Regions from separate parts of the Homo sapiens genome. Here region 2 is linked to region 1. The links are contacts of gene promoters, found by promoter capture Hi-C in blood cells and fetal thymus (Javierre and others, 2016). All regions are on one chromosome and are shown on one strand. The core of a region is centred on a gene start or on the middle of the fragment in contact, and the rest is flanking DNA. Distances in the headings are between cores, read along the strand shown. Region 1 holds the start of CENPE (centromere protein E). Region 2 overlaps DAPP1 (dual adaptor of phosphotyrosine and 3-phosphoinositides 1).

Region 1 (2,840 bases), core at 18-2,517:
GTACTGGTAAACAAAGGGATGGATTCAAAATGCAACTCTGATTATGTCTGTCTTGCTTAAAATTCTTAAAACCTTTTGGAAACTTATGAAATCCTCAGCAGGGCACGAGTCCTAGATCATGTCATTTCTCTCTTCCATTTTCCTCTGAATTCCTAGATACATCCTAAGCTCTACCTGAAGGTCTTCCCCAAATGACAGATGTAACCTCTCTGTGCCTGGAATACTCTGACTTCCCTTTCCATTAAGTAACATAGGGATTATTTCACTCATGAAAAGCGTCAAGACTTTTCTGACACCAGTTCACCCCACGGGAAGCTTTCGTCTCTGATGGGCTAATAACTCCTCTAGCAAACATTCTCTACCTGCCCATCATAACACTTGTCAAAAGGTATCCTAATGGTTTCTTTATGTAGCCGTTTAAGGCATTAGATAATGAGCTCCTCAAAAATAGGAAATTCCTGATCTTGGTATTTGCATTTATTAAACCCCGTGTTCAATAAAAATTTCTCACACACACAAAGTGTTAGCATTTCGGGTCGAGGGCCAGAAGCTAGTGAAGCAAACCGATTTCATTTATTCCTCTTCCTGCTTTTTCTCCCTAGCACTTATTACCTACATATCACCACTTAACATCCTACATTTTCAACTTTACTTTCTGTCTCGTCCCATTAGAATGGAAGAGCCACTGGGCAATGACGGGAGTGTCTGTGTTGTACAAAGTCACTAAAAAAAAATTGATAAATATTTGTAGAATGATCTTGAGTGACGATTGAATGTAATGTGACAAGACAGACTAGCCCTTGTCTTCAGAGGGTCTGGAGACAGCAGTTAGGTGTAAAATGACTAACTGTGATGAGGGCCAGGAAGGCACGGTCCCATACGACTTCTCTAGGCGGGGAATGGGGCAGGGAGGAGCAGATGCCGCAAGGCAGAGCAGCACAGAAGGGAAGGTCTGTATGTCAGCGAGACTGAGTTAAATTTAAGTGAATCTCGCAGCTGGAAAGTATCTTCTAGATCTCCGATCCTCCCCTGTCACTTTACAGACCCTGAAACGATGGCCAGCAGCCGAGTCACTAGACAGCAGAGCCGGGAAGCAGCGGCTCCTGGAAACATCGTAGGCCTCGCCCCTCCGGCTCAGGGCGGCGCCGCAGGCCCAGCGGGCACCGGGCCGTGGTGTGGCCCCCCTACCTGCTGTTCAGCGGCCGCACTCGCACGCAGACGGCCACGGCTCCTTCCTCCGCCATCCTATCAGGCTGAACTGGTCCCAGGAAAATGGCCAGGACCCTCCGCGGCCGGCACTTCAGGGCTCACAGGCCGCCCCGCCTTTAAATTTAAAATTTCCCAAACGCCGCATCTGATTGAGCCGTGGCCTCGTGACGTCATGGGCCATTCCACGTGCGGAGCAGCGCGGGGGACGCAAGGCGGGCGGCGTGACCACTGCTAAACAGGAGAGGGGATTTAAAGGGCCCAGCAGAGAGTCGGAGGAGAGGGCCGAAGGGAGGGGCTCCCAGGAGTGGGCAGAGAGTGGTGGTCCTGGAATACCAGAATACTATTATCTGCCAAAAGCTAGCGAACGTCATCCTCCACCCCATCCTTAAAAAGTTTGGAACCTGTAGACGAAACTAGGTAGAGATACATGTATTTTTCACTACCCAAACAGAATTGCCGTCTTTTAAAGAAACTGCACCAACAGTTTAAAATAAACTTTCAACAGCAAGAGTTGAAATTCGCTGTCCAGTCCAGAAACGTGACAAGCCTGTTGTGCGCCTTAGAAAATCTGAGTTTAGGCTTTTCTCCTGTTTCTCTCTCTCTGTAACTCGTTTCCATTAGCTGTGGCTTCCTCAGAGGTTGAATTAGGGAAAATAAATACCGAGGACTGAAAAACTCATTGAGTAATGGGTTGATACTTTTTTTTTCTTCTTTTTTTTGGAAACGGAGTCTCGCTCTGTCACCCCAGGCTGGAGTGCAGTGGTGCTTATCTCTGCTCATTGCAGCCTCCACCTCCTGCATTCAAGTGATTCTCCTGCCTCAGCCTCCCCAGTAGCTGGGATTACAAGGTGCCCGCCACCACGCCCAGGTAATTTTTGTATTTTTAGTAGAGACGGGGCTTCGCCATGTTGGCAAGGCTGGTCTCAAAGTCCTGACCTCAGGTGATCCACTTGCCTCGGTCTCCAAAAGTGCTGGGATTAAAGGCGTGAGCCACCGCTCCTGGCCTGGTTTGTTACTTTTATTAACTAAGAGGGAAAGCTATTCTAAATACAGTGATTTTTTCCCAAAAATAATGCTTATTTTCCCTTTCTTCTCTCTCTCTCTTTTTTTTTTTTTTTTTTTTTTAAATAAACATGAGTTCTTGCTTTGTCACCTAGGCTAGAGTGCAGTAGGCTGAACACAGCTCACTGCAGGCTCAACTCCTGGCCTCAGCCCAAGTGGGGTTCCCACCTTAACCTCCTGAGTAGCTTGGATTACAGGCACATCACAAGCCCAGATAATTTTTAAATTTTTTTGTAGAGACGGGGTGGTGGGGGGATTAGGGTAGGGAGTGGGGTCTCACAGTGTTGCCTAGGCAGGTCTTGAACTCCTAGGCTCAAGCAATCCTCCTTGCCTTGGCCTCCCAAAGTGCTGGGATTACAAGCATGAGCCATCGTGCCTGGCCTAGCTTTTTATGTGTACTTTAGAAAGCTATCCAAGATGTTTCATTTATTAAGAGAAATTCAAGGTGCACGGTTATGTACACAGAATATGTCTGGATATACATACATAATTTTTGGAAAGATACACAGAATATGCCTAATTTCCTTGCAGAGTGAGGACTGAGTTAGATGGTAGACTGAGTTAGATGA
Region 2 (2,711 bases), core at 212-2,711, 3.4 Mb before region 1:
CGGGTGGAATAGGACTGTGTCTTTCCTCCATGTGCAAAGAATAGACATTGAATACAAAACTGAGTCACACCACTTCCCTGCAAAAAAAAAAGGGTACATTCATGGCCAGATTTCCCTATTTCAGAAGGCGTGAACAATTAATAAACATGAGGATGATTTCTATAGCAATGGGCAACCTGCAGTTATCTGGGAAAACTGCTCTACAGTCCTGGTTCTTGACCTTGGCTGTGCTCTGGAACATCTTGACACCCAAACCACAGACTTGACAAATGATTTCAGTATCTCTGGGGATGGGTGTTTTCTTGTCAAACTCTCCAAGTAATTCCAAAGTGAGACCCTAGGTTGATGATCACTGCATAGAATATGTATCTACCAAATGCATTAGGTAAATGTGGTCTTGTTTTTCATTTTAAGTCTGTTGGGTGTGTACTTGAATCTTAAAATTACTAATAAATGTTGATATTTTGTTTGTTGGTTTAGGGGCATTTCGATTAGCAACTTTATTGAGGTTATTTTACATATCATAAAATATACCCGTTTCAAGTGTACAATTCAATACTTTTGACTAACTTTACAGAGTGATACAACCATCACCATAAATCAGTTTTAGGACATTTCTGTTCTCCCAAAAAGAACCCTCAGATGTATGGCTTATTTAAGCATACTCAACAGTGTGCTGGAAAAACAGCTGGGAAGAGTTGGGGTGTGGAGAAAGCCCTGATTTCAAGAATTTGCCTAATTCCCTGGTATAAATACTCCCACTATAGACAATTTCAAGCTGCCAACAATTTAACATCATCGAATTGAATATTTAATAATCAACTTGTGCCAGTACTTGCTCCTGCAGCACCTCACTGATACATTTTTTATAGATAACAATTTGAGAACTCTTGACAATGACTTGTTGCCTCTGCCAGAATACTGAACATAACTCGAACATTATAATGACTTTTTCTTTGAACCTTTAACCACTGGCGAGATAGAATCTCTACCAAACCTTCTGATTAATTTAGTTTCCAAAGACCTCCTTAAAAACAAAATGATTTAATGTAATGGATAGATAAAAGGTAGCTGGTTTTAATGACTTAATTTTTCAATTATTTTTAAGAGGTTATTTGAGTAGTTAGATAAATCCTTACGTTTATGTTTTTGATAGACATAAACAGATAAGTTAGTGGTTAAATTACAGAAATAGCAGAAGTCTTTGTTCTTGGGCCTCTGTTTTTTTCAGGCTCTGGAATATGTAAATCCTGTAAATTGAGCCCTGAACTGCAGCAAATCCATCACTTGCCTTTCCAGGACATATACAACTTGCTCAGAGTACAGGTTTATTATTTTCTAAAATACCTAAATCAAGCAACACAGTGCTTTTCCATGTCTCATTTATAGAGTGTCAGCCTAAAATCATTAATTTTCTTTCATCTAAAATACATTAATGTGTCCAGAAGCAAAGGAGAAATAAAACCATCTTAAATTGTTGCTCAGCTTCGCTTACACTTCTCAGGGGAGGGTATGGGCTTAGGGGGAAGAGAGGTGTGGGGAGGGCAAGAAGTGAGGGTGTGGAGAATCAGGGGAGAGGAAGGAGGTGGACCATGAACGAGGAGATGGGTCAGGCTGTTTGCTGCTTGCAAAATGAAAATATGGCAAAATAAAACAAGTAACAAATACTGGAGATATCACCTAAGTAACAAACTGGTAAAGAATAGCTAGTTAAATTACTGAAAATTCCAGCAATTCTTTGGCTTTAACAAAGGTTACTATACTATTTCTACATATAGCTATATATATGTATAAACACAAAAGAAATAACAAAATGAAAGTGTTTTAGCATACTTTAAAATTAAATATTCAAATGATCTAGTCAGTTGTAACTCCAAGTGAGAAACATAATAAACGTTCTCTTTTTTAAATACTTTCTCAAATCGAAAGTTGTATAAGAAAGTGCCAGTGTTTGGCTGGATTGGCCAGTGCCAAAGAACTAGATTCCAAGCTCTGAATATTTAAATAAATTGATAACTAATTAGTCACATATAAGAGAAGTTTAGAGTAGACCATGGAGCAGCAAACCTTTTTTTTATAAAGGGCCGGGTAACGAATGTTTTAGGCTTTGCAGGCCTTACAGTCTCTACCTCAACTACTCACATCTGCTGTTGTGCAAAAACTACCAGAGAACACAGAAACAAATGACCGTGATGGTGTTCAAACAAAACGTTATTTATACACTGAAATGTGAATTTCATATAATTTTTATGAATATTTTTCTATTTCCCTCAAGCATTTCAAAATGTACAGCCATTCTTGGCTCCCAGTCCATACTAAAACAGGTGTCTGACAGGAATTAACCCTCAGCTGGTGGTTTGCTGACCCACGGAATAAATGATAATAAACAAAATGAGTCCGTATTATAAGGCAGGCATTTTGTAGACACCAGCTCTGGTCTTTGAAAGGCACTGGTATTCCAGCTTTACACAGGAAGAGACTCAAGAGCAGAAAAATCAGGTTGCCTACAGTCTCTGAGTGTCTGTGTTCAAAACCCATGCTGACTTCACAAACCAGGTTGTTTCCCTGCTGTGATAGTCCTAATTTACTGACCACCTACTATGCATCAGCACCATACCATTCACACGCATAATGCCATTTAGGCTTCACAATAACACTTTCAATACGATATCACCATACTCATTTCATAGACGCAAAAGGTGACTTCAATA

The links. Contacts are between HindIII fragments. The CHiCAGO score rates a contact against its expected background, and 5 or more counts as called.
Region 2: a contact is called between a fragment that was not itself captured here and the fragment with the promoter of CENPE in region 1, in 1 of 17 cell types (naive B cells). The highest score is 6.3, in naive B cells.

Annotation. Positions count from the first base shown.
Region 1 is chr4:103,197,076-103,199,915 of GRCh38, forward strand. CENPE (centromere protein E) reads right to left here and starts at 1,268. Exons shown (of 49, transcript NM_001813.3): 1 at 1,189-1,268. The coding sequence starts at 1,244. RefSeq lists an enhancer at 1,130-1,684. The HindIII fragment of the contact is 3,749 bases long and covers 314-2,840 here.
Region 2 is chr4:99,818,608-99,821,318 of GRCh38, forward strand. The region is part of intron 1 of DAPP1 (dual adaptor of phosphotyrosine and 3-phosphoinositides 1); the gene reads left to right. Among named protein-coding and RNA genes, the nearest start is that of DAPP1, 3.1 kb to the left of the region's middle. The HindIII fragment of the contact is 5,274 bases long and covers 1-2,711 here.